Linked DNA regions of Homo sapiens: region 2 is linked to region 1. Evidence: promoter capture Hi-C in 16 types of primary human blood cells and fetal thymus (Javierre and others, 2016). All regions are on one chromosome and are shown on one strand. The core of a region is centred on a gene start or on the middle of the fragment in contact, and the rest is flanking DNA. Distances in the headings are between cores, read along the strand shown.

Region 1 (7,384 bases), core at 2,323-4,822:
ACGGGGAAAGGATGGTTCCTGCTGGTTTATATTCAAGATTGGCTAGGCGCGGTGGCTCATGCCTGTAATCCTAGCACTTTGGGAGGCCTAGGTGGGTGGATCACGAGGTCAGCAGATTGAGACCATCCTGGCTGACACGGTGAAACCCCGTGTCTACTAAAACTACAAAAAATTAGCCGGGCTTGGTGGCGGGCACCCGTAGTCCCAGCTACTCGGGATGCTGAGGCAGGAGAATGGCGTGAACCCGGGAGGCGGAGCTGGCAGTGAGCCGAGATCGCGCCACTGCACTCTAGCCTGGGTGACAAAGCGAGACTCCATCTCAAAAAAAAAAAAAAAAAAAAAAGACGAAGATAGAGGTGCTGGAATGAGTGCCCCCTCATACACACTGCTTTGGATCTGTCTCACCATGTCCTGTGTGTCCGTGGCTCTCATCAACTTAGTCTTTCCTACCCCTCAGCTGTCTCAGATCTTTATCATCTGGACAAAATCTTTGCCTGAGTCTTCAAGAGAGATCATGCTTTTCCTTTCCTTTTTACTTCATGCCTACTGCCTCCATTTCATCATGATTTATTCTTGTTTTAACTCAGTGCAAGCTGCCTTCATTATAGTAACCCTTTCTCAGAGAGCTCCAGTGTTCAGTATCCCTCCTCCAGGACTTCCCTGGCATGTTTTACTTTGTTGGTCATCAATTATTTTTTGAAGTGTCCCTTCTTTTTGCTTCTGTAATATCTTATTCCACATCTTTGGACTTTCGTAGTCACTGCTTATGTTTTTCCTCCACTGATTTTCCTTCTTCCACTGAAGACTGTGAGGATTCTTCAGAGCTCAGACTTAAGCTTTCTTTTTTCTTTTCTTTTTTTTTTTTTTTTAAGACATGGGATCTCACTCTGTCGCTCAGGCTGGAGTGCAGTAGCATTATCACGGTTCACTGCTGCCTCAACCTCCCAGGCTCGAGCAATCTTCCTAACTCAGCCTCCCAAGTAGCTGGGACTACAGGTATGCGCCACCATGCCAGGCTAATTTTTGTACTTTTTGTAGTGACGGAGTCCCACCATGTTGCCCAGGCTGGTCTCCAACTCCTGGGCTCAAGTATCCACCTGCCTCAGCCTCCCAAAGTGCTGGAATTACAGGCATTAGCCACTGCACCAGGCCTTAAGCTTTCTTTATCTCTTCATCTGCTCAAGTTTCACCCATTCCAAAAGTCCCAACTCTCATATCCAGCCAGATAACTCTGAGACCTCCATCCCTTGTTCTGACACTCCAGCCCCACCGCTCACTCTCCTAGCCTTCTGACAAGCTCCCCCTGCTTCCCTGCAGCCACCTTAAGTCCAGCAGGCTGGAGGACATGCTTCCCTCCAAAGCTCTTCATTCACCCTCTTACCCAGGCCTACCAAGCCAGGTTCCTGGCTACTTCCTCCTATTATACTTTCCTTTGAACTGTTTCAGATACAGCCCTTCCTTTCCATTGCCATTGCTAAAACCCTAATCGAGGCTGTCATCACCACCACTTGGATTCATTCATGTATTCATCCAGAAAAGTTTTATTGAACACCAACTATGCACCTGGCACTGGAGCTATATCTGTGAACACAACAGAGGAAAAAAAATCCTTGCCACTGAGAAGCTTATAGTCTAGTGGAAAAGGCAGATGAAAAACTAGGAAATATGTTTTCTAGAAAATATTTTCTGAAAATAACTAGAAAATATAATATATATTAGAAATGTATATTAAATAATAATAAATGATAGAATGCTAATAAGTGCTAACCAGAAAAAAAAGAGCAAGGAAGTGAAAGGGTGGGTGAGTTGTTATTCATCTAGAGTGATTACAGCAGCCTCATGAGTAAAGACCTGAAAGAAGGAGGGAGCCATTTTGGATACCTAAGCATTTCAAGTTGGGGACACAGTGGAAGGATATCCTGGTGTATCTGAAGAGACTATGCAGGCCCTTGCACACCACTCTGAGACTTTGACTTTCATTCTGATTGAAAAGGGAAGCTCTCAACAGGTTTTAAACGTAAAAAAGGAACAACCTAATTTTTCAACTTTATTTTTAATAGCTTTCTTGAAGTATAATGGACATATAAACTGCAAATATTTGAAGTGTACAATTTGATAAGTTTTGACATATGTATATACCCATGATACCATCATCACCATAAAAATAATAAACATATCCACATCTCAAAAATTGTCCTTTGTCCTTTGTGTTTCATGTTTTATCAGAATCACTAGCTCTGAGAAACAGCACTCAACTGTGATGTTGAGAACAGGCGAAGGGGGACTCAAGGAAAACAGTCAAGAGGCCACTACAGAGGACAGATGATAGTGGCTCGGACCAGGGAAGTAGGTAAACAGGGGCTGTAACGAATAATTGATTAATCACTAATCTCATAACTTCTTGCTGCATATTCACTTCAATTCACTCTGAAGAGAAATGAACAAAAATGTCGCTTTCACAGGATAACCTCCCTTCAAAAAAGTCCGCTAGCTCCCAATTGCCCTCAGGCTAAAAATCGCAACTCTTTATGGCCCTGCTTTTTCTATTACCACTCTCAAATCTACATCTTGACCTTCCTGTCCTCTGGTCATTCCCCTCCACGTCCTTTCTATTTCACCACACTTCCACCCCCTCCCCCAAGTCTAAATTGTGCCCAAAGTCCCACTTTCTCCAGAAAGCCTTTTTTGAGGTCTCCATTGGAATCTCTCCCTTCTCGTATCTCCAGTTGCATTTGATGTTAATACCTCATAGCAAATTTATCCCTTTTTAAGTACCCAGAGCCGGCGGTGTAGAGCTCTCGAGCGAGCACCCCGCGTAGTCCCCAAGTGCGGGACTGGGCCTATGCTACTACAGGCGCTCGCTGCCTAAGCCTGTCTGTGTGTGGCAGTGTCCTAGTCGTCCTCCCCTCCTCCTTCGGCATCTGCTCTGCATTAGTCTGTCCCAGGCCTCCGCAGGCGCCGATGATTAAATCATCATCATTAACCAGGGCCTGCCCCCCCCATCCCCGGCAGCAGGGGGGAGAATGGGGGAATAAGATCACTACCAAGTCCCTGGGGGTCTCTCACTCCCCATCCCCCGGCACCCTCTCCGAGACTCTGCAAAGCCCAAGAAACTCCCTCCGTGAAGCCGGGAGAAGACCCGCCATCTGGACGAAGCTCCGCTACGCGGACGCCGACAGGGCGGCATTACGAGGAGAGGACCCAGGAGGGGCTTCTTCAGCAGGGTCGTCGTCACAGAAGACCGACGACCCTGAGCGGGTAGCGGGCACAGACTGCCAGGCCTTTGGGGGTAGGAGGGGGCAGTCTTTCGCAGGCTCCGAAAGTTAGTCTTGAGGTCGCGTAGGGCCTATTATGATGATTTCTACAGGAGGTTGAAGAGATAAGACCCTTCCCTGTGCTCCCCCCCCCCCACTCCTTAATTACGGATTGAGCAGGGGAGGGGCCGGTGGGGCTCAGGTGAGCACACAGGGAGAAAGGGACGTGGGCGGGGCCTTACAGAGGGTGAGCGAATCCGAAAAGACCTAGAACCTCGTTGCTGGGAGACAAGTCCCGCCCTGCAGGCGGCACCGGAAGTGGCCGGCTGGGATCAGCCTTTAAGATGGCGTCTCCTCAGGGGGGCCAGATTGCGATCGCGATGAGGCTTCGGAACCAGCTCCAGTCAGTGTACAAGATGGACCCGCTACGGAACGAGGTGCAAGGGCGGCAGGGTTACTGCTGTGGTCGGCCAGCGGTGCGAATTGGGGCGGGCTAAAGGACGGGCGGTGGCTGGCCGGGCGCCCAGTGCGCCTGCGCAGAGACAGAGTGCCCAGTGCGCCTGCGTGGTTGCGATCGGGTTGCCAAACTCCGGTTAGGACGCCTGCGCGTTGTGTCGCCGACGTTGTGTAGTCTCCCCTGGGAAAGGAGGGTCAGGCGAGTCCACGTGAGGGAAGCCCCCGCTGTGCGCGGAGCCCTCTGCTGGGCGGAGGGGGAGTGCCAGCCCCCAGGAGCTAATCCCCGGCTGATGGCGCAGGGCGCGGGGCTTGGCCGTCTAGTGTGATGAAGGAGGCGACCCCCAAGGTGGGAAGGCGCACGGGTTGGGGTTTGAGGGTGGATGATTGGTGACGGAGGGTGTATCTTCAGGAGGAGGTTCGAGTGAAGATCAAAGACTTGAATGAACACATTGTTTGCTGCCTATGCGCCGGCTACTTCGTGGATGCCACCACCATCACAGAGTGTCTTCATACTTGTGAGTGCCTTGGAGACTGCCTAGTTCTTCCAGTCCCTAGTCTTCACCAAGCTGACTGCCAGCTTCTGTGCGGCCTGCCTCACGCATCCAGGCACCCCACCCAGCCCATGAATCCAGTTTCCAGAGGGCCTGAGAATCTGCTTTTCTTTTCCTGCAGTCTGCAAGAGTTGTATTGTGAAGTACCTCCAAACTAGCAAGTACTGCCCCATGTGCAACATTAAGATCCACGAGACACAGCCACTGCTCAACCTCAAACTGGACCGGGTCATGCAGGACATCGTGTATAAGCTGGTGCCTGGCTTGCAAGACAGTGAGTCACCAACCTGACTTTGAGGGGCCTCTTGAGGACTAATTGCTGAGTGGCAGCTTGAGGTGACGGGTTTGGTAGGACTCACGTAGGCAGAAGGCCAAAGATGAGGGAAGGACAAAAAGTGAGGAAGGGCTAATACTTTATTCTTTTTTTTCTTTTTTTGAGACGGAGTCTTGCCCAGGCTGGAGTGCAGTGGCGCAATCTCAGCTCACTGCAAGCTCCACCTCCTGGATTCATGCCATTCTCCTGCCTCAGCCTCCTGAGTAGCTGGGACTACAGGCGCCCACCACCATGCCCAGCTAATTTTTTATATTTTTTAGTAGAGACGGGGTTTCACCATGTTAGCCAGGATGGCCTCAATCTCCTGACTTCATGATCTGCCCACCTCTGCCTCCCAAAGTGCTGGGATTACAGGCGTGAGCCACCGCGCCCGGCCCCGAAGGGCTAATACTTTATTCTCATACTTCACCTTCTTCTAGGTGAAGAGAAACGGATTCGGGAATTCTACCAGTCCCGAGGTTTGGACCGGGTCACCCAGCCCACTGGGGAAGGTATGTCCTTGGCCGCGGGACAGTAAAGACCCCAGAGCATTCTTCTTGCCCAGTTTTGCTCTCTGGGGAAAGAGGAGTATGGAATGTGTGCCACCAGCCACCTCACTACCCTATCTTTCTCAGAGCCAGCACTGAGCAACCTCGGCCTCCCCTTCAGCAGCTTTGACCACTCTAAAGCCCACTACTATCGCTATGATGAGCAGTTGAACCTGTGCCTGGAGCGGCTGAGGTGAGGAGAAGGTCAGGGGTTGCAGGAGGTGACAGTGCCAATGACCCAGAGCCAGGGAGGGTCTAGGGGAGAGGCTGAGCAGTGAGTGAGTGCCTATCCCCTTGAAGAGAGTATATCATGGCTCTGGGTGGGGAAGAGGAGGAAAGATAGGATTCCCTAACCTGTGTCTATTTCCCCCCAGTTCTGGCAAAGACAAGAATAAAAGCGTCCTGCAGGTGAGAAGGGCTGAGGGGAGGGCCTCTCTAAGGAGACTCACCTCCCATGGTCCTTCCCTCACACACCTTGCCCTCTTCCCTCCCCTCCCTGCTCCCAGAACAAGTATGTCCGATGTTCTGTTAGAGCTGAGGTACGCCATCTCCGGAGGGTCCTGTGTCACCGCTTGATGCTAAACCCTCAGCATGTGAGTAGTCCCACAGTAGGTTTCTTGAGGGGGAGAAGGGGCTAAGAAAGGAGGGACAGAGTCTAGGGTGGACCAGGGTAGTTTTTGACCTGCCAGAAAGTTCCTAAAATTATGCCCCCATCTCCCTCCTAGGTGCAGCTCCTTTTTGACAATGAAGTTCTCCCTGATCACATGACAATGAAGCAGATATGGCTCTCCCGCTGGTTCGGCAAGGTAAGCCAGGCCACCCTCCCTGGGATCACACCCCCTTCAGACTCCCCCCAACCATCCTACAGTCCTCAGGGGAAGGGTGGGCTGAGGGGCCCTTTGAATAATATAAGAACATTCCCCACTGACTACTACTTCCTCATTCTCTCCTTAGCCATCCCCTTTGCTTTTACAATACAGTGTGAAAGAGAAGAGGAGGTAGGGGCCAAGCCCCCACCCCATCCCACTCCCCTTCCCTCCCCAGATATTTATGTGAAATGAACTGCAGCTTTATTTTTTGAAATAAAAACTTTTAAAAAGCACCTCTCTTCTGCCTTATTCTTCCTGCCTCACACTCATGCTGTGTCCTGCCTTCTTCAAAAATCCTCTGAGTTTCATTGTGAAGAAGGGCCTGTCCTCTATGGCCATGGGCCCTCAATGTCTTGCCAAAGGAGAAGGGTAGAGGATCCCTATATGTGTGAAACCAGGCCTCCCACACCACTCTTTTTGGTGATGGGAAGGTTTCCTGGAGGGGAGCTCTCAGCTGTCTTTGTATGCTGCAGCATACAGTGCGGGTGCGGGCCTCTTAGGAGGTTTCCTAATTCAGCGGTGGTGAGAAGGCTAGAGTTGGACAGTGGCTGCTGCAGGATTGAACAAGTGTGATTTTTTAAAGAAAAATCCAAAGAATTGCATTATAGTTTTATAACTTGGGGGATGGGGACAAAAAGGAGGGAGAAGTCTAAAAAACAAATGGAGTGGGGCCACAGGAATTGTCAGAAATGGAGGCTTAGGCTGTCCATACAGGATTCAGCAAGTACTTGGGGACTGCGACTAGAAGAAGCCAGGGTGGGGAATAAGTAGCTGAGGAGGAGAGGGAGCTGATGTGGAGGAGAGCAAGGGCAACTTCAAGGAACAAAAGGGAAGCTGCAAGGCACCAGCTCCATTAATTCAGCAAACATTCCTTGTCTGTATGCCATGCCAGGGTCCTTGTTCTATGGTTCTCTCAGTGGGGTAGCTAGAAACTTGCCCAACAGACAGGAACAGACAGAAGCCAAAGCAAAGAATTCCTGAAGGTAGCCGGCCTGCTGCCAAACCTGGGACAAACTGTATGGAGGCGCAGCGTGTGTAGCCAGAACCCGAGTTAAAACCTAGGTCCCACCCTGGCCGGTCTGACTCCACGGCTTCTAGGGGTTGGTTGTGCGAAGCTGTTGAGGGCTGAAGGCGCTAACCATCAAAGATGGAGGTCGGGTGGCAGAAGATGGGGTGGGAGGCAGAGAGTGAGTACAGCGAAGGCGGCCTCAACTGGATAAGAAAACTCCAGACTTGCGGGAAAGGCCTGAGCTCGCATTGGACGCTCTGGGGTGCCACAGTCGGACACTGTTTCCGGGAGACCTCCGCCTCTCCGCGCGGATGAAGAGGCTGCAGACGCCGAAGAAGAGCTCGAGTGCGTGGGGCACTGATGGGGATCGGGGTGGGCACACAG
Region 2 (7,384 bases), core at 1,979-4,478, 110 kb before region 1:
TTGTGTCTCTTATACCTTTAAAAAAGTCACATTTAACATGTCATTTGAGTTAGGAAAAAACTTCCTTGCATTTTAGCACCTATCTCTCTGCCAATTTCAACTTTGTATAGATAAAGTTTTGGAAAAACTTACCCACTGAATGGAGGTGAGAGTGCAGTTTCCTAGAGTTCTTCCCCAGGGAGCTCTGATCTTAAGTCTTTTAGAGCATGAAGAGCAGCATAGTGCTTCTGCTCCCTCAGAGCATCCTTTGAGCCTCCCCATCCCATTTCATCTTTTATGGTTGGTCTAGGACCAGTTACAGAAGTGGATTCATGGTAATGTGAGTGCATATTCCAGCTATTTTCATATTTGACAAGATGCATAAATTCCACCCCCAGGGTTGTCAACACAATCAGTCTGTTTCTAGACCACTACAAAAAGGTTTTTACCAAAAAGCCATCTTCATCTTTCCCAGAAACATAGACAGGGACCTCATAACTGAGATAGCTCTTGACTTTTGGTGGGTAGGAGGAAGGAGGGAAGACATTTAGCTGAAGGACCTGGAACCTGTGCCGTCTGATAGTCTTCAATAATAAGCACAGTGGTCTGTGGTGCAATGGACTGATCAACAAAACCTTAATCAATTACTTTACCTTTTTCCTGCCGATGAAGTACAGACGTGAAAATATGCATGAAGGCAGAGATGAGGGCCCATGGTTCTGCTATAGATGAAGACATTGTCACAAGAGTGGCAGAGGAAATGACGCTTTTCCCCAAAGACAAGAAAATCTACTCAGTCAAGAGCTGTAAGACTGAACAATGACAGCTAGATTTCCACTGAGCTCTTAACCAGATGGGATAAGAGGGATTTGGGAGGCTCAGCACACGAGGGACCTTGCCTTTCAGAGGCATTTTGAAGACTTCTTTGGGGTTTGGCACATTTGCACCTGTGAACTTTCGGGATATAGAAGTTTCTAAGAATTGGTTTTTGAAAAGACACTAATCTGTCAAGTGCACTTGTCATTTTGCAACATGACATCAATCCAGCTGTTAATTGCAGTTAAAGATAAACTATAAAATCCCCTTCACACTTATTGTTGCTGACTTTGACAGAAGTGCCTGGAAACAGCTGTGCAAGGGAGGCCTGAGGATCGAGGATTGTTTCTGACCCACAACACCCACACCTCAGAAGCTACTGTTGTGACTGAAGGGGTTCAAGGGCCCTGCTACAGTCTGAAGAGCATTAGGTTTTCACCTGCTAAAAACATTCTTCTGCTGTTTCTTTTTCTTCACACAGAGAGGGTTCACTGACTTGTATTTTCAGTTTAAATTGGTGGCACTTGACAGGTACAGGTGGTGTCTGGTGGGAGGACATGGCCCTGCACGCTGAGCACTCTTGGCCTGGGGTGAACTGTCTGCATGTGGGGTGGGAGCTCCATCTGAGGTCTCTGCAGAGCAGGGCAGACAGGTCCATTGCTGTGGCTGCTGATTACATCTGTGATCATGGAATTCCTTCACCCATCTCTCACTTGATATCACTTACCCACTTGCCTTCCTTGTACCACATCTTCTCCTGACCTTCACTTGCTACTAAATTCCCCCCAACCATATCATCATAGAAGCTAATCAGAATAAGACTGTAGCTTCAAATTTGAGTCCTTGGTTCCTAAGGTTAAACGTTTGCTGTTACCTTTAAAATATGGGTCAATCTCTTGCTTTACTCCAGAGAACCATTTGAAATTCACAGGACATGCACATTCTCCATAGTTGACATGTGCACAGACTAAGCAGTCAGTTTGCAGATTCGGCATTGCCAAAGAAGTGGGAGTATTAAACACTAGAAATGCTAAGAGTTTTCAAGGATTTGTATATTTATTATAATGTTTTTACTTCTGAACCTTCGATAATAGAAATATAGAACATTGCTTATTTTAAAACATGAGAAGGGCACAAAATGGAATAATTGCTTATTTTTTCCCAGACACTCTTAAAACAAATGGTATGAATTTTTTTAACTTTTATTTTAAGTTCAAGGGTGCATGTGCAGGTACATAAGTAAACTTGTGTCATGGGGGTTTGTTGTACAGATTATTTCATCATCCAGGTATTAAGCCTACTACCCATTAGTTATTTTTTCTGATCCTCTCCCTCCTCCCACACTCCACCCTCTGACAGGCCCCAGTGTGTGTTGTCCCTTTTTATGTGTCCATGTGTTCTCATCATTTAGCTCGCACTTATAAGTCAGAACATGCAGTATTTGGTTTTCTGTTCCTGCGTTAGCTTGGAATTTTTATTGTTAAATCCATAGTAATATGTCATCACAATTGTAGACACAAACAAGCTTAGTCCGAAGTTGTGGCTGGTTCTGGGTGTCATCTAATGACACCCTATATGACATCACCAGGCTGGACTGCCCTGATCACTGAGAAGTAAGGCTTAGATTCCAGCTATTTTGAATCATTCTGTGTCTGTCCTATAGTTGTAGTACAACTGCAGACACATAATTAGAACAATGGTGTAGCATTTTTGTATATAAAATGTAATAGAATGAATTTGTGACATCAAAATGCCTTGTAGGGTATCACATTTAGTCTTTTAAAATACCAAGGTGAGGCTTAAAATTTTTAGTACATATTCTCAAATTGGAGTTAAGTTACATTTCTTTTATAGCCTTTTGGGTATCTGGTCAAGAGAAAACAAGATTTTTCTCTGTTTATAATGATGCAATAAACTCAACCCATGTTGGCCACCAAATAAATAAAATAGGAATAAAAATTGATACTGAATGTTGTGTCATTCGATCAGTAATTATTTTATTTATTCACACAAACCTGAGCTAATTGAAAGAAGAGCCCAGCTTGTCCATGCCATTAAGAGGAATATTTCCAATTATTAAGAGAAACATTTCCAATTAAAGCTATGCTTAATGCCAATAATTATTTCTCAAAATTTGTATATACATGTTGTTTTAATAAATTGTATATGAATGATAATTCTAATAATAACTCAATCTAGAGTGCCCCTTAGAGCCTATGCTCATAGGAAACTTAGAACTCTTGCAAAATATAGCTGTTTTAGATGCAGAGAAGTATGATGGGATGATCAATAAAAGGTTGCCAAGCATAAAAATTCTTTTACATTATGATAAAACTCTCAGGGAAAGTGAAATGGAAATATGAGTTCAAGGAGAAAAAGGAACAATCTAAATTTCTATCTCTTGGGAAAAAAAGAGCTTGTTCATGTACTTTTAACACTGAATAATGGTGAGTATCAAATCACCATGGCATTTAGATTCAATTGGACTGTTTTGAAGAGTTATATTATAGTTTTATTTTTAAATGTTGATATTTAAAATATGCAGGAAGTTACATCGTTAGCAACCACTTATAAAGTTGGAATTTTAAAATATAGATGTTCACTTAAAAATGCATAAGGGGGTACATTGTTTCTCAGATTCTTTTAGTGGGTACATGAGAAGAAATGCTTAAAGCCTACTAGGCTACACCTGTGGTGTGATTTCTTCTAATTTCTTTCTCGGATAGTTTTCTTATTTTCCTTTCTAGATTACAAGTTTTCTTTGTGTAAGAATTATATGCAATTCCTTGTGTTTTCACCCCAAAGACTTGGGGAGAGAAGAATATATCAACTGTGGAGCTAAGCCCAGGAAGGTGTTGACTTAAGCAGTCTTTGTATTCTGGCAGGTTTACAGCTCATGCTCATGGATTTTATGTGCATTACAGATATCACTCAGTTCTGCTCTATGGTCAGGAAGGTGTCCCCATCCCAAAATATAATTCTTCCCCACCCCCCACCTGCTATTGATGCATGGAATCCCTTCAAATGATGTCACAAATCTTCAGTCCACATTTATCAAAATGCATATATCCTTAGGAGAAGTAACATTGACCTAGTATCAGATTAAATTAGTTGACTCCTAAGAGCAAGTTTTTATAAAGGTAGATGAGGAGAACCAAAAGGTCGCTTGTCTCGGTTTAACATGTTGGCTCCTTAAGCTGACTGCAGACTAACCCAAATATCTCTTCTTTACTGAAGTTATCCTAAAGAGCGTATTAGATAGGACGTATGAATTCTGAAGTGATCAACCACATCAAAATTCTCACTTCTGGGAAAACCTCATTTTTAAGTAGAGAAGCTTTTGGTGCCTAGACTGACTAAGAAATGAAGATGATGTCTAAGGTGAACACTGTCTGGCCTCCAGTTTGCAGGTCACCCCAAAGTAAAACTAAGCAGTCACACAACTGGATTTCCCTTTGTGTGAGTGAATGAGTTAAAACACTTCCTTTCATGTTTCTGGTAACTCTAAGTAATCAAAACCTTTATGGCTGCAAATTTTCCTTCTGCTAGTGTAGGGAAGATTTTGGTGCAGTGGCTAGAACACAATAGGAATTCAGTAGATGTTGGTCAAATAAATTTTCAGGAAGGGAAGGAACTTCTGAGGAATTATTTATAATAAATTTAGACTGCCAATTAATCTGAAACCTGGTCCCTAAAGACTTGTGTCTTTGATTCGTTTTTCTCTGCAGCAAGTGAAAGGGAACTTTGCTAGGTTGCAGACCTGCATCTCAGAACTCCGCATGTTACAGAGAGAAGGGTGTTTCAGATCACAAGGTGCTTCTCTGCGGCTGGCAGTAGAGGATGGGCTCCAGCAATTCAAACAATACAGCAGACATGTGACCACAAGGGCAGCTCTGACCTATACCTCCCTGGAGGTAAGTGATGCTGGCCTTTAGGACTCCAAGCTGTGTTCCGATTTCAGTCCATATAGGTCATTGTTTATCATCTTTACATTGTTCTATCTTTCATTCACTCTAGATGTAATATTCAAAGCAAGATTTTCAGCTCCCTACAGGCAGAGGACATGTTTCTCTTCTTCCTATAACCTGTACAGTTCTTAATGTAGAGATAGTTATAGAGAAGAGCTCTAAAAATACAGACTGAAGTGAATTATGAGGAAAAACTGAAATAAAAATAAAATCTGAATATGCCATCTGCCTCTGGATTTTTGGAAGTTGTAAAGAAAATGTTAAACTGCCTACATTGGTAGCTGTATTTATATTTACCTTGGTACTCTTAGGAATTTACAGTTGTTTTTAATCAAATCTTGGCATCAAATTGAGGAACTTTTCTCGGGATTAGCAAGTGTGCAAATACAAGAGTGCCAGACTGAGCCAATCTTAAAAATATAAATAAGGGCATGGCTGGATACTCCATTGGGTACATGAGTAAGTGTGAGTTAAGACAGTTTCGGTCTCTTGTAACCTCAGGGATCAAACAGACAGGACAAAAAATAATCGTGTGGGATTGCTGGTTTCCAATTCTTCATGTAAGGAGCTTGGAAGTTGCCACTCCATCCTAACAACTAGTAAAAAGCTTAACAAACTAAAAAATCAACAATATTTTTTAGATCCCTGAGAAGTGAGGTCACAGGGCAAACTGTTGCATCCAAAATGGGAGAGACAACCAGGCAAATACAGAGAATCACAACATACTGGAACAGAAACCTCCACAGGAACCAGTGCTAGAGTAGGAAACTGTCATTGACATTGCTACAGGCTAGGTGTAGACATGTCTAAAATTCTAGGAGAGGATGAGCATTGTGGCTCACACCTGTAATCCCAGCACTTTGAGAGGCCAAGGCAGGAAGATCACCTTGAGGCCAGGAGTTCAAGAGCAGCCTGGACAGCATAGCAAGACTCCATCTCCACAGAAAATAAAGATTAGCCAGGCTTGGTGGTGTGCACCTATAGTCCTAGCTACTTGAGAGGCTGGGGCAGGAAGATGGCTTGAGCCCAAGAGTTCAAAGTTGCACTGAGCTATGATCATACCACTCCACACTTTTGTGAGTTTTACCTCCAGGAGCTCAACCAAGTCCTCTTGTAAACATCGGGGGAAAATTCCCTCATGCCTCTGACAGGGAGAAGGAAAAATGAACCATTTTGAAATATACCAGAGCACTCTGTTATTAACAGGTATAATGAAACTACCCTAACAGGTAGTTACTCAGGAGAAACTAGTTAAACAGAACCTAACCCTTAACCTCCTGGGATTTTATCAGAGTCTAAATGACCTGGAAGAAGGGAAATACCAAACTCCAGCCAGCTGTATCCTTCAATGTAGCAGAAAGGAATACTCAACTTCAGCCCACTCTAGCCATCCTGTCCCACCTAAGTAGGGAGAGAAAAAACTGAGGAACACTTGTAAAGTTCACAGTCCAGAGGCATAAGTTCACTAAAAGACTGAGACCTAATCATACTTCCCCTCCCTCTATCCCTTACCACACATTACTAAAGGCCTGCTTATAGCAGTTCCTTTAGCCTGGAACATCATGTACAACTATGAAAAGCGTACTAAAAGACAAAAAAACACAGTTTGAAGAGACAGCAAGCATCAGAATTAGACATGGCAGAGACACTGGAATTCTCAGACCACAGAATTTAAAGCAACTATGATTAATATGCTAAGGGCTCTAATGGATAAAGCAGACGGAATGAAAGAACATATGGGCAATGTAAGCAGAAAGATGGAAATCCTAAGAAAAAATAAAAAAAGGTGCTAGAGATCAAAAACATTGTAATAGATGTGAAGAATGTCTGTGATGGGCTTATTTGTAGACCTATGGCTGAAGAAAGAATCTTTGAGTTTGAGGATGTATCAATAGAAATGTTCAAATCTGAAAAAGCAAAGAGAAAAAAAAACTGGAAAAAAAACCCAGAGCAGAATATTCAAGAACTGTGGGACAACTATAAAAGGTACGACTTACATGTAACGGGAATACCAGAAGGAAAAGAAAGAAAGAAACAGAAGAAACATTTGAATAATAATGACTGAGAATTTCTTAAAGTCAGACACCAACCCACAGATCCAGGAAGCTCAGAGAACACCATTAAACCACATGCTCCTGAACAACCAGTGGGTCAATGGAGAAATTAAAAATGAAGTTTAAAATCTTGAGTCAAATGAAAATGGATATACAATATACCAAAACTTATGAGATAGAGCAAAAGAGGGAAGTTTATAGCAATAAACGCCTACATCAAAAAAGAAGAAAGATATCAAATAAACAACCTAGCATTGCACCTCAAGGAACTAGAAGAACAAGAATAGACTAAACCCAAAATTACTAGAAGGAAAAAAAATAGTAATGATCAGAATAAAAATAAAAGAAATAGAGACTTAAAATAGTACAACACTTTGGGAAGCTACGGCAGGAGGATTGCTTGAGGCCAGGAGTTTGAGACCAGCCTTGGTAACATAGTGAGATCCCATCTCTACAAAAAATTTTTTAAATTACCCAGGTGTGGTGCACATACCTGTAGTCCTAGCTACTTTGGGAGGCCGAGGTGGAAAGATTGCTTGAGCCCAGGAGTTTGAGGCTGCAGTGAGC

Evidence for each region. Contacts are between HindIII fragments. The CHiCAGO score rates a contact against its expected background, and 5 or more counts as called.
Region 2: a contact is called between a fragment that was not itself captured here and the fragment with the promoter of PCGF1 in region 1, in 2 of 17 cell types (naive B cells and total B cells). The highest score is 5.7, in naive B cells.

The regions. Positions count from the first base shown.
Region 1 is chr2:74,503,883-74,511,266 of GRCh38, reverse strand. PCGF1 (polycomb group ring finger 1) reads left to right here and starts at 3,572. Exons shown (of 9, transcript NM_032673.3): 1 at 3,572-3,691; 2 at 4,120-4,225; 3 at 4,383-4,535; 4 at 5,015-5,086; 5 at 5,210-5,315; 6 at 5,497-5,530; 7 at 5,629-5,715; 8 at 5,848-5,928; 9 at 6,077-6,224. The coding sequence starts at 3,599. The coding sequence ends at 6,124. It overlaps LBX2-AS1 (LBX2 antisense RNA 1), which reads right to left. Exons shown (of 2, transcript NR_152616.1): 2 at 6,202-7,384. RefSeq lists enhancers at 2,763-2,822, 3,563-3,742, 3,379-4,309. The HindIII fragment of the contact is 5,812 bases long and covers 1,627-7,384 here.
Region 2 is chr2:74,612,289-74,619,672 of GRCh38, reverse strand. It overlaps M1AP (meiosis 1 associated protein), which reads left to right. Exons shown (of 11, transcript NM_001321739.2): 3 at 4,524-4,709. It also overlaps the pseudogene TOR1BP1. Among named protein-coding and RNA genes, the nearest start is that of M1AP, 32 kb to the left of the region's middle. The HindIII fragment of the contact is 1,812 bases long and covers 2,323-4,134 here.